Regions from separate parts of the Homo sapiens genome. Here region 1 is linked to region 2. Evidence: promoter capture Hi-C in human tissues and cell types (Jung and others, 2019). All regions are on one chromosome and are shown on one strand. Each heading gives the region's core, a stretch centred on a gene start or on the middle of the fragment in contact. The rest is flanking DNA. Distances are from core to core; before and after follow the strand shown. Region 1 has its middle 180 kb from the start of EPS8. Region 2 holds the start of DERA (deoxyribose-phosphate aldolase).

Region 1 (6,861 bases), core at 1,500-3,999, 310 kb after region 2:
CTGGTCTTTGCCTCTTCAGTTCAGTGGGACTATCTTGTTCTGCTTGAATTATAGCTTGCTGCTCTGAGGTTGCAGAATTGTCCCCAGGCGGAGAGCCGACAAGTTTTCCTTATCCCAGATATGATAGTCTCGTACTGCTTGTAAAAGGGGACCAATAGATTTTATCTCTTTCCCTCTCCTTAATAGGCACTGGGTCATGGGAAGCTAATGTGAGAGGTACTCTAATCACTTAAAACTCTTCACACTTTTCTCTAAGAAAATTTATAGGAAATATGGGATTCACTTGTTTTCTAAAATTAACTTTATAGAGGCTGCACTAGGGCTTGGGTGGAGATCTCACCAGGTCTGAGTCTTCTCACTTTCTTCTCAATGCTTGCATAAGGAAGGTGGAACAACATTAGAAAATTGTAGAGAGCCCATAAAGGAGTTTATATGAAGACTGGTTGTTTCTAAGTAGGAGACAATGTTCATTTAATAAACATTTAGCACATGTTTTCTTTTAGAATTGGATATTCAAGGGAAAACCTGGACAGGGTCTCTGCCTTCAAGGAACGCACACAATCTAAAGAACCGTTGCAGTTTGCCTTATTTATCCCGGAATCTAGTTTTACTGATTTCTTAGGACAAGATTACATCCTAAAACTAGCAGTGCTGACTTCCCAGACACTGTAATTTTACGCTGTGACACTTAGTTTTTCCCAAAGGGCATGGCCTTAACTTAGTAACTAGCATGAAAGATGTTCAGAGGGTTGTACAAAGGGCCCTTAGGAATGGATTGGGCAAGGAAGGCATTTTATCTTCTGTAATACCACCTTTCTCTTGCATACTTATTAAAAAAACTAAAATAAAACATAAAATACTTATAAAGCCATGGTTGCTGCAAGTGACTTCCAGAGAAAGGGTGCATTCTCAGCAGTTCTGGGTTCTATATGGGAATTTCAGTTTGTATGACGTGTTTCTTTTTCCCCACGCATTCTCTCTCCATCATCTTTGTTCCCCAATCCCTTCTTTTCTCCTCCATTTTTAAGACCTACTCCCACATCATCTCACAGCCCCTTTACTTGCCTCTTTGTTCCTTTCTATCCTCAGTTGAGGACAGGAAAAGAAGCCAGTGTTCTGAGAGCAGTTTTTCGGGAAATGCTCAGTTGTTTTTTGTTTTTGTTTTTATTTTGAGTGGGGGGCGCACTTGGCAGAACTATCTTCTAATACCCAAATGTTCAGATTTATCTCATCACGTTTGTGAAAGAAAGGTTAAAAAATGAAAAGTTAGTATAATTCTGATAAGATAGCATTACTAAGAACTACACAATTAAACGTGAAGGTGAATTGGAGGAAGATGTGGCTATTACGTGCTCTGAGAGAACTAAGGTCCCGGATGTGGATTTCTGTATGAACTGGTTATCTTAACAGTTGAAATGCCTTCGAAAGAGCTTTGGGCACATCACCTTGAGCTTGGTGCTGGAAGGAGGTGTGCGATGAGCCAGGACTGCTGAGGGGCCCAGATGGTCCTGGTCCAGGCGGCTCTCACGGCTCTTTCCTTCCTGACTGTAGTCCCAGGCAGTTGGCCCAATTCCTGCTCCATTTCTGGGCTGCCTCGGGTGGGAAAGCTCTGCATATGGAGTAGAATATAATTTCCCCATGTTCAATCATTCCTGTTTCCTCCAAAAATGAAATGAAGGCCCTTTCAGCCCATGGAAAAATGGAATAAAGCACACATGCATACACACACACACACACACGCACACGCACACGCACACACAAACTGGCCAGAAATTGAAATCTCTAGATCTTTCACAGTTTGTCCTGTTTCATTGTTTCTTACTCTGAACTGGTACCATATGACAAGGCCTTCTGCCCTCCCATCTATTCTAAGGAAAGGGAAACAGGAACTGAATTCATGTGTGCTGAGCACTTTCACATATATCCCACTTTATAAGAGAGGAAATTGAAACCCAGATAAGTTAGGTAGCTTGTAAAAGATTACAAAGTGGACAACTGAATTTGGACTCAATTTCTTGGACTTCTATATATCATGCAAACTTTTTTTCTCTCATGTATTATATAGGTCAGTGTATACAACAATTTAAGCAGAAAAAGCACTTTTTTAAAAAATGAAATTTTATATAGTATGCCTCCATATAACACAGGTAAAATCAGCACTGAAGATGCAGAGAGGAGTCCGGGAGCTTTATTTGGAAATCTCTGGACCTTGGAACTCCAGGTCCCATGAAGGCCCTTGCGGGTGGACATGAAGGTAGACTGGACAGTGGTTGTTCCAGGCAGCAGTTGAACCAGGAGATATAATTCTCAGTTGCAAAGGTCATTTGCATCTGTGGGGAATTTCAGATGACTGACCACCTCCTCAAAGCGCTATTTTGTTTAGATAGAAAAATTAGCTTTGGACGTTCTCTCATAGGTCCACATTTATGCTTTGGAATCGACATTACATAAAATACCAAGAAATCAGGGCAAAAATTACTGGATCTTAGTCTCAACCCTGCTCGTAATAGCCAGGCCCAAACTAGGAGTAGATATACATTTGCTTCAAGTTAATCTGTGGTGTGGTTTATTCAGTAAACACAACGACAGTGTCCTCTCCAGCTCTTAGGAGGTATGTGGGAAAAGGATTGATTTGTCTTTCACTAGTGAAGGAACCTAGCAGCAGAGCTATTGGAACATAGGCTAAAAGAGGCTAAGACAGGTGCCATGAGCTGTTGCTAGCTCATAAAATATAGCTCTTCTGAGATCACACCACTGCACTCCAGCCTGGGCGACAGAGCGAGACTCTGTCTCATACACACACACAAAATACAGCTCTTTGCAAGGTAAGCAGGTCATGGTGTTAATAGCCTGTAGCAACCTCGTATCTTGCAGTATATAAGTAAGGGCGCACTTTTTATTAGGAAAACAGCACAGGGAAGTTAGTCTATTGCCTCATCTCCAAAACCAATCTTATTATAGGATGGAATTTGGAAGTCTGGGTAATTTGTTTCATTTGCATTGCAGCAAATGGAAAAAAAAAGAATGAGAAAATGACTATTGTTATACCTTGGTGACAGCGCAGTGGATTTACAGAACGCAAATTAAAACAGATATCTGAAATTGCCTGGATGCTTCCAAATTCTTTTATTATTTTTTCCAACTGAGTTTTCCACCCCAATATGTGACATGTATGTGCAAACAAAACTTCTGCCTCTTTTTTTTTTTTTGACGGAGTTTTGCTCTGTCGCCCAGGCTGGAGTGCAGTGGCGTGATCTCGGCTCACTTCAACCTCTGCCTCCTGGGTTCAACCGATTCTCCTGCCTCACCCTCCCGAGTAGTTGGGACTGCAGGCATGCACCACCACGCCCAGCTAATTTTTTTATATATATTTTTAGTAGAGACGCATTTTCACCATACTGGCCAGGCTAGTCTGGTGTTGAACTCCTGACCTCAGGTAATCTGCTGGCCTTGGCCTCCCAAAGTGCTGGGATTACAGGAGTGAGCCACTGCGCCTGGCCAAACCTCTGCCTCTTACGGGAGCTGCTGACTCCAAGTGTGGCAGCACTTCATGGGTTGGGTTGTTACTGCTGCTCTGGGAGCTGACCTTGTGTAGGGGGCATGCTCATGCTAAGGGCGCCCATGTGGGACTGAGAAATCAAAGGGGCACACTCACTCTGTAGATGTCTTGGTACTGAAAGGAGTAGGTGGGTTTGGTGGCCTAAATGCACTAAGAGAGGGAGAGATTTGGAAATTTGAAGAATCATACTGCATTTATGCTATGCTGACTCTGCCAGGTTTTTGGCCGGTGCTTTACACAACCAGTTATAAGTTTTACCACAACTTGAAAACGTAGATATTATTTTTTTATTGTGGGAACACTTAGGCTGAGAAATAGTAGGTGACTTCTCAAGGCCACACTGCTAGTCAGCATAAGAGCACAGAGTTCTGTGACTCTGAAGACTATACTTTCTCAATTATGCCATTCTGTACCCTCAGACCACCAGGCACCATGCCAAGGGCTTTACATTTAATCCTCAGTGCAGCCCTGTGGAGGAGGCTCTTATTATTGCCATTAACAAACAAGGAAACCAGTTCACAGAGGGATTAAGTGGTGCTCACAAGCGGTGTCTGTTCACGCCAAGCATCTCTTCTTAACTTGACCCAGGCGTATGTACATATTAAGGTTTGTACAAATTGGCTGTCTTGTCTTAGAAGCAGTCAGCTCTCTAGATATAGTTTTAGTGCAAGGAATTTGTGCAGATTATCTGTACAGCTGCAGACATCTTCATGGAATGTAAATTAGGTGCTGACATTGCTTTTCTGGGAAACCCGCTAGCATAGATTACATACACTGGACATAAAACACACACATTGGTAATACATTTGCTAGTAAAGAATTGGAAATCCAGGCCTGGGAAATCCAGGACTCTTATCTGGAACACTAGCTTCTGCTTTTGCATCAAATGCCTATGACACAAGGTCATCCACATTGGGTCACAGACTATACCTCTTTTATATTCCAAGGTCTGTGACTGTGAGGGTAGCTGCCAGGGGAGGGGGTTCAGGTGTCACCCTGGAAAAACCCAGTCAGTCTAGGTCAGATACCAGCTTCAGATGCTCTTACCAAGTCTATTGAAGACTATCAGGATGGCCCTTAGAGACTGTGGGAGATTGGCTTGTAACAGGGTGGTATGTAATGTACTAAACTATTCCTGGTATTGTTTTCAGATCCTTACACATGTTATCTTCTGATGCCCTATGCAATGGACTGAATTTGCCCCCAAAATTCATATGTTGAAATCCTAATCCCTAATGTAATGATATTAGAAGGTGGGGCCTTTGGGAAGTAATTATATCATAAAGGTGGAACCTTCATGAATAGGATCAGTGCCCAGATAAAAGGAACCCCAGAGAGCTCTCTTGCCTTGTTTCTGCCATGTAAGCATACAAGAAGGCAGCTGTCTGCTACCCAGAAGAGGGCTCTCACCAGAACCGACCATGCTGGCATCTTGATCTTGGACTTACTGCCTCCAGAACCGTAAGAAATATTTAAAGCCACCTAGTTTATGGTGCTTTGTTACAGCAGCCCTGACTAAGACTCCCTATGTGAAAGCTACCATCAGGATGTCATTTCATAGATTAGATGACTGAGTTATATGTAGTCAGGAGCAGAGACTTAGCTCAAGCCTCTCTTCAACCACAGTCCCTTATTCTAAGCCCCTCTGCTCTGCTGTCCTGCTGGACCCTGTCCTGTGTCACTTCCCAAGTTCATTGGTTAAGGGGCAATATGATCTAATTTGGTTTTGGACATGAAGGAACCTTTCTAAGACCATCCTGTTTTATATTTATAAAGGATGTAGTGGTTACAGTTAACTTTTTCTAGTTTAAACTGCCCTTTGAACTTTTTGGTGCTCTTAGAACTGAACAAAAATATTTCGTGTCAGCTGGCTTTGAACTGTGACCATGGCCCTGGAACGCACCAGGACACGCACAAAATGTAAAGGATTGGGTTGCCCAGCATCACTCCAAACACCAAGCCTCATGGGCTCCTGTATGTGTGAGCTTTTGTTGATGTGAAACCACTTTGGGGTATATTGTTAATAGGAATCCAGGAGTCTGATTCAGAGGCAATGGCCTAGTGTAAGGGTAAGAAGTTCTAGTGGGTGTCCTGAGTCATGGTCTTATGATGGGGTGTGAAAAGCAATGACAACCAAAAGATCAGGAGAGATCTAACCTGGAGGAAAACAACTTATAAAGAAGAATTCATATATTTCTGTTAAAAAGTTTATTTATTAAAGGAACCATTATTGCTTTTGTGGCCTTTCCTGAACCCTTGTTTTGCATTGTGGGTTTACTTTGCTCTGCACTGCTTCATCTTTAACTGTCTTCTGGGAATTTTACTGGGCAGTCACACACCATTGCTCTGAAAACTTCCTATTGTAACTTAGATGGAACATTGTTGTAAAGGTTATCCTTGTGCTGCCATATTAGTTAAGGGCAGGTTGATTGCTGTAACTGACAATGACCAAGTTTCAGTGACAATGCAATAGAAATCTATTTCTTGATCACATAATGGGCCAATGCTACCAGATATCCCTGCCCCAAGTGGTGATTCAGGGACCCAGAGTCCTCCTATCTGTGGCACCACCATCTGTGTTGGGGTAGAGGAGAGGGAGAGAGAGAAAGAGACATACACACATTCACAGTCACACACACACAGAGAGAGAGAGACAAGAAAGAAGAGGGGTGGGGGAGGGTGGAATGGAAGGTTGCTCCTGGGTAATTTTCATGGTCCAGAGGCCAGGAAGCACACATTCCATTGCCCAGAACTCTGCAAAGGGTCTTGAAAAGTAGTCCCAGTATGCTCTGTTAGGTTTGCAGTAAGAGTAAATCCACTAGATTCTGCTGAGTGATACATGAGCTGGAGCTGTTTGTGGACATCTTAAGAGAAATGGTCCCCTTGGAAGGTGCCAAGAAGAATAGGTTCAGAAGGCAGGGTGGGAGGATTAGTCATCCATATGGGCCCCAGTGACTGATGCATACTGGGTGTTTCATGTTTGCTGAATGAGCAATGAATGTTCCTCTTTAGTATTGCTTAATGTGGCCCTATAGTTATTAGTACTTTAATATAGTAGTATAGTGTTTCCTGACCCTTCTAGAAAAAAAAGATCACCTATCCTTCCCTTGGACCTATATTGGATACTTTTTGTGTTTCTATCACGGTGTCTGTTACACTTTGTTGCCCTTATTTTTACTTCTGATTTCCCCTATTAGAATGTAAACTAGAAGCAAGAATCTTGTTGCATCCATCTTCATAGCCATAGCCCCTTCTACGGTGCCTGGCATGAAAGGTTCAATAAATAAATGATTTTCTTAGAA
Region 2 (7,124 bases), core at 751-3,250:
CGTGAAGGAAAAAAATCTGATTTTAACAAATAAGATAATAAATACAAAGCTATGATCATTTCGATAGCTGCATAAAAACCACATTTACTATTGTTCTACCTGGCAATTATTTATGTCTATTACTTTTCAACAAATGAATGGAAGTGATTGATTCTAATTACTGCAAATAAATAAATTTAAAAATGGTTCAATTATGTTTTTTGAAAGAAAAATTTAAAATGTCTAAGTTTTGGGAAATTTAGGGCACATCCTTGATGTATGCATAGTCACATGGTCATATTCCTGGGAATACCCAGGTAAGACACCACCCCAAACCTGCCCCATATCCACCACCTTCAAGGATATTCCAATCTAAGAAATAATGCCGTTATTACTAAAGACCACGTTCCAGAGATAGGACTAGAGTTTAAAACATAATCAGCTAGAGGACAGTGACTAAAACAAAATCAACCAGGTTAGTAAATCAACTGTCTTTAAAATGATAGATTTACTCTCTTACCATTCGACAAAAAATCCAGAACACCTCTTGGAAGTGCAGACTGTTTAAGTACCAGTCACTTTTAAGGAGGGCGAAAAGGACCTACCTGTATGTGTTACATATAATTTACAGCCAATTTTCTCAAAATTAGCCCCTAAAACCATAACTCCATATACTAATACTATCTATACTGAAGACTTACTAGGTGTCCACAATATACCAAACTACTTTACATGTATCCTATTTAATCTCCTAACGGCCTTATAAGGTAACTACCACTAAAATAACCATTTTACAGATGAAGAAACTTAAGCGCAAAGTTATTAATTTGTCCGAAGTCACACAGGTAAGAAGTTAAAGATCCTGGATACACAGATATCCAAGCTATAATACTTAAACGAGACGCTTAAACCTTCTCTTGATCATGGTTTTGCTGTTTGAATTATAAATTTTTCACATGTTAAGAAATCTGAAGAAAAATTCTCTTCTGCCTTGGGATCCTGTTGATCTGTGACCTTATCCCCAACCCTGTGCTCTCTGAAACATGTGCTGTGTCCACTCAGGGTTAAATGGATTAAGGGCGGTGCAAGATGTGCTTTGTTAAACAGATGCTTGAAGGCAGCATGCTCGTTAAGAGTCATCACCACTCCCTAATCTTAAGTACCCAGGGACACAAACACTGCGGAAGGCCGCAGGGTCCTCTGCCTAGGAAAACCAGAGACCTTTGTTCACTTGTTTATCAGCTGACCTTCCCTCCACTACTGTCCTATGACCCTGCCAAATCCCCCTCTGCGAGAAACACCCAAGAATGATCAATAAAAAAAAAAAAAAAAGAAATCTGAACTAAGGTTTCTTGCCAGTATTTGAACAATATAAAAAAAGATGAAAACTGGGAAATAATACAGGTACTTTAACAAATCTTTGTAACTCTAAAATCCCATGAATCTGCAGTGTTACATTTTGAGCACAGACGGCTGACAACTTTTCCACGAGCACGGCCACTTCAAGGTTACGGTTAAAATTATCTACGGAAATACTGCATTAAATTACACAAGTATTCTATTAAAAGGAGGAGAAAGAAGGTTTTTATCTGTTTTTACCTGCTTGGGGGTTGTTTGTTTTGGGTTTTGTTTTTTGGGTTGTTGGGTTTTCCAACCAGCGAGCTAGAGTGAACGAAAAGGCAGGAAGATAATAATCTAACCCTTTCCTACTCCTTCCGCATACAAGAGTAAAAGCTTAGGTGCAAAGACAAGCGGCGCGAACGTGCCGGGTTCGGCCTTTACTTGGGGTGAGGGCTGACCAGACGCCACTGCTTCCCGCCCCAGCGAAAACCCCTCGGGGACCCACAGCCAGGGCACTGGGCGGCAGCAGGCCCCGCGCTAGTCCCGGCGGCGCTGAACGCGAGGGAGAGGGGATGGGGAGCCCCGCGGGCCCCTTACCGAGCTCGGTGCCCCGATTGTGCGCGGACATGGCGCGGGCAGCTCCGGAGCTGCCGGCTGGTAGGCGCCCGCCTCTGCGCCGCGCCCGGCCCTTCCTCCTTCCCGCCAGCTGGAGCGCTCGCCCCGCCCCTGCCCGCTCCCGGGGCGGAGTCGCGGGCCCGGGCTACGAGGTCTGTACCCTAGGAATATTGCTCCGCAAGGAAATCTCGCTGCTCCCCTCCCCCGTCTTCTCCACGAGGTACCGAACCGGAGCGCTAAGTAGCTCCCGGAAATAATGCTACCAACACCCTTTAAAAAATACTGAAGTTGCCAATTGCACGTAATAAAAATATTCCTAGAAACTTTTAACTGTAAGATTATATAACAAGAAGGAAGAAGATCCAAGTGCAGAGCTCTGCAACTTAAGGTCTGAAATGTCAGCAGGGATCCCATATCCTTGTTAGGGAAACCAAGGTGCAATCAAGGGCCCCGGGGCACACTGACTTTTCTAATCTACACATCATGAAAAGAAGCAGCTATGTGGCCTGAAGAAGGCAAGGGCTTAGGAGTCAGAAGACCTGGTTTCTTAGCCAAGCTCGGGCAATAATTAAATGTGTGACCCTGGGCAAATTAACTGCTTTTCCGAGCTTCATTTTTCTCATCTGTAAAAGAAGACCTTGACAATTTCTTGGTTCTTCAAAATACTATGATTCTATAAAGGTAAAATGCTTCAGCCTGATTTCTCTGTGACCAAGAGGTTAAAATCGTCGAGTCACTCCACAATCTCAATATAGTTAACTTATCTGTACTCACGTTTAGAGGCACCTCTGCTATGAAAACAGTACAGTTAGTTATGATTTGTCTACCATGAGCCAGTTATTGTGCTAGGTGCTTTCATACATCATATATAGATGTATGATAGCATTTGAGTCTCTGAACAATCCTGCCAATAATGTATTTTATCTCCATTGCTGTAACTTTAGACATCAAAGTTCTGAATAGAAAGGCATCCTGGTATAGGGGAAATACAGTGAGCTCAAAATGAGCTGAACCCATTAATATACCAGCTCTTCCATTTAATAAATGTAACTTGGCAGTTCTGGAAATAATAGTCTGTCTACTTACCTGTAAAGTGGAGATGATCAAAATATGTTCACCTTGCAAAGCTGTTGAATGTATGCAAGGCACCTAGTACATAACATGGCATACAGTAGATACTTAAAAAATGGAAGCTGTTAATGTTATTGTCAAGTTCACACAGTAATTACTGAGCTGTTTTAAATAGGAATAGTAATATTTGTATACTCCTCTACATTGAGCTTTCAGCCTTGTCCACACACAGCCACTGTTGAATGTTTCGGATGTGTGTAGATCTTACTCATACATACTATAGCACTTTTCTTTTTTATATTAACCTTGAAAAAGAGAAAAGCAGGCCCTGAAAGCCTGGAGCTGGCCTGAAACTCACAACTGGACCATGGTTTTCCCTGGTTAAACGTATACAATTTCACAGCACAGCATCAGCCAAGGCCATTGTGACCACAATGAATCAACAAAAACATAATCATAATCATGTCTGATAATAGAAAACCATGAATATTGTTCAAATAGCCCCTATCCTAGCTATTATGACTTCTTTACCAATCAGTTCTAGCTTCACTCCATTCCTATGTTTTAGATAAGAATTAAGATGCACTACTATCACCAGTTCCTACCATCATCCAGTCCAGATCCTTCCTTGAACTTTCCCCAAATCACCTACGACAGGCCCAAATCCTATGTAGTTTCTAACATCCTCTTACTGAGACACCTCACATTAGGTGCCCATGGCAAGCATTCTCCCTTGTTACAATGTCAATAAACACAACTTTGTCCACTTGTAGGTGTGTTACTGGTGGTCTCTGGCTGGAGATCATTCACATCTCTAGAAGATACAAAGGCAATACATGAAATTCTATTTTTAGAAGTAAACACAACTCCAAACCAGATTCCATACCATTCATTACATAAATGTTTGTTTGTTTGTTTTTAAATTGTGATATCCTAAATTAGTTGAAAAATCAGAATTAGGGCAGCCTCTTAAAGCAATGTTTTAGCAATGTATCAGTCAAGAATTTCTCAAGGACTTTTTCTAAAATGGACCTGTTGAATGTATTAATCTCAAATTAATCTCTGCAGTTTAAAAGTATGTTAATTTGGCAACATTAGGAGAGACAGCAGGGATAGTATGCAAAAAATGAGTTTCTTTCACAGAGAAATGTTCCTATATTTCATTTTGTGAAGATTCCTTTTACATTTATTGCCTTATGAAACTTCTGAAGTATCCCTAAGGCAAGTCCCCTCAAAGAAAGAGCTATAGACCACTACATGGGAATCACCCAAGAGCTTTTTCTAAAGCAGTTCTGGGCTTCCTCACAGCCCTACTCAATCAGAGTATCTAGGACCCTGGAATCTGTAATTTTAATATTTCTTCAAACAATGTTTATGCAAACTAAACGTAAAGAACCACCAATGAGAAGCAGAGGAAAATAAACTATGCATGCCAATCTGGAGCCATAGCCCAAACTGACTCTTACAAGAGTAAAATTGCTTTTAAAGTATTACATGTTGTATTTTTTAAGCCATGTAAATTTTGCATGCTATTCCTATTCATTGATGTTTTTCAATGTAAATTTTAAACTGCCAAATAAATTACCTAATTATCCTCCCACCCTCACTCCTCCTTTAATTAAAATTAAAGCTCTAGGAATATGTAATATTTATCTTGAAGCTTCTAAGAACCTACCAGTCCTGGGAGATAGGAGTAAAACAAATTTTAAGGTCCAAAGGGCATAGATCATTTGTGTTTGGTTCATCATATGTAGGATCTAGTACAGTAGTTGGCAATTAGTAGACTATAAATATTTGTTAGATGAATGAGTGTATATTGCTGTCTTTGCTACTTTTCTTATACTGCCTACTGTTTTATCCAGTCAAATTTCATTTGATATAGTCTCTACTCCTATGATTTCTAAGAGCAATTATTCACAAGTTCATTAGGTAAATAACCACTTAGACTACAAACTGTCAGCCAGCATTTCTAGGTCAGATGGAGAAAAGTGTAGGAGCAGGGAGGACTATGAAAAATTGTGAATATTAGAGTCAAAATATTTTAGAACTGGAGGGAGACTAATAGAACATCCAATTCCTAGTTCATGGTAAAATAAAAAAAAAATAAGAATTATACTGAGTGTTTTATGAAGCTAAATTTATTCAATTTAAAGAACACTCCTTCATTCTGAGACTACGTTGTTCACTACCAATTTGAATTTTAAAATGTCGTTTTATAAAGATCGTGGCGTTAGATAATTATTTTTTCTTTTTTAATAGCCTCAGTTGGCTAGAAGCCGACCATTCCATCTCCTCTCCCCCATTTTGAAGTCTATTGGCCACAGAATCCTAAAGCTTGGGAATCACTGATACAATATATAATACTCGCTAATATTAAGTGCTTCCTGTGAATTAAGTCCTTTCCATAAAGTATTTGGTATTTCATATTTATGAGATTTTTCCTGAAAAAAATCTGTGAGAACTCTTTTCTCCCTGTACAGATAAACTGAGGCTAAGAGAGATTTGCCTGTAAGTGCTAGACGATTGCTTAAAACCTGGCAATATATAATCATATAACAATATATAACCTTAGACTACACACTATTCCCTACTATCTCTTGGAAGCTAAACTTATTAGACAAACCATTAAACCTCTCTGAAATTCAGGTTTTCCATATATGCAACGGAGACAATTACCTATCTCATTGGATTACTGGGAGAGATTAAAAAGTGACACACGTGTTAACATTAAAACCTAACGTAAGGCACTTATATCATTTCCATACTCGTCCTTAAACTAAAATCAGTTACCTTCCACTTGACCATGTTCTATTCTCTCATTAAAGTGATTCAATCTATAAAGTATTATTATTGTTCATTAGCTATCATTTAGACGCATACTTGGGCCTTGTTTCCAAAGGTAAATTTGTTAGATGCCTCCGAGAACTCTACTGATCTAGTCACCTCAGTCTAAGTGACACTATAGCACACTTGCAATTAAGCATTTCTATATTAAATAGATAACCAATGAAAAGCTAGGCCCCCTCTTATCTGAGAATGTTCTTGCTTTAACAATGTTTTCATGGGTAACCCCCCAGTGTAGCAGACAGACATGCACAGTAACATATAGTAACCTAATAAGAACCTCTTTTTAAGTTGTTAATCCCCTAGGTGTAAAGCATAAGCAAGGTAGCTAGTTGAGAAATATTTTCCATTGGTCTGCTTTTTCAATGCATCTTGTTGTTGCTCCCTTCTGAAAAATTGCATCCATTTTTCCCCAACCTTGGTCTCAAAGAAAAGGCAGCTAAATACTTCCATGGAATTTGAGCAACTACTAAAAAATGTAATCTATAATTTGTTATAAATTATGGTGCATCTATATGCTATTTGGTGCATCTATGCTATTTTGTAGACGTTATAAAGAATGTGTTGAACTTTACTGACATGAAAAATATTCTGAAGAGAATTGAATGACCACACTCAATCCTGGCTTCCTGGAAGAAAACTCTGGATGACACTAAAATAGAGAAGTAATTGATTCATAAAAAGGTAAATTACTAATATTAGGTGGGAACTTGGGATACCATGACCTACTGGAAATTAGGACCTAGAGAGGAGACTCCAGGGGATGAATTGGATGAGAAGGCAAGTGAAAGCTGGATTCTTCCTGGGTAACTTCAGTCTCACACCGGCTGAAGCTGTACACGGGTTCACTGGAGAGGTAAGAGCTTTGTCTTGCCATGTCTGCCATGCCTGCCATGTCTCACTCTTCAGTGGAGGATGGCCTGCTACATATGAGATAACTGGAAAACAGTCTTCCTGGTCTGACATGGATTACTGGGAGAGATTAAAAAGATTTGGTGAGGGACTTGTTTCAACAACTATTGAGCACTCACAACATACCAGTCACCTTTCCAGGTAAAGGGAGACTATCAATGAAGCTGAAAAACATGCAACAAAATTTCAAATAGCGTTAACAAGTATGAATAAAATAGGACTCAGTAAGAAGTGACAAGAGATGGAATACAGACCAGCTGGAGAACTGAATGCAAAGAAAGGATCCAGCCAAGCAAAACATTAGGTAAGAGTGAACCAAGTAGCAGAAATATCAAGTGAAAAGGACTTGAGACAGAAATGAG

What was found. The method cuts DNA at HindIII sites, captures the fragments that hold promoters and counts their contacts. A contact is called where the count stands out against the background at its distance.
Region 1: a fragment that was not itself captured here is called in contact with the fragment with the promoter of DERA in region 2 in 1 of the 25 tissues and cell types used here (mesendoderm cells).

The regions. Positions count from the first base shown.
Region 1 is chr12:15,601,065-15,607,925 of GRCh38, reverse strand. No RefSeq gene overlaps it. Among named protein-coding and RNA genes, the nearest start is that of EPS8, 180 kb to the left of the region's middle. The HindIII fragment of the contact is 8,413 bases long and covers 1-6,861 here.
Region 2 is chr12:15,906,208-15,913,331 of GRCh38, reverse strand. It overlaps DERA (deoxyribose-phosphate aldolase), which reads right to left and starts at 2,000. Exons shown (of 9, transcript NM_015954.4): 1 at 1,918-2,000. The coding sequence starts at 1,948. RefSeq lists enhancers at 822-1,565, 1,566-2,310 and silencers at 1,713-2,062, 2,083-2,142. The HindIII fragment of the contact is 4,741 bases long and covers 263-5,003 here.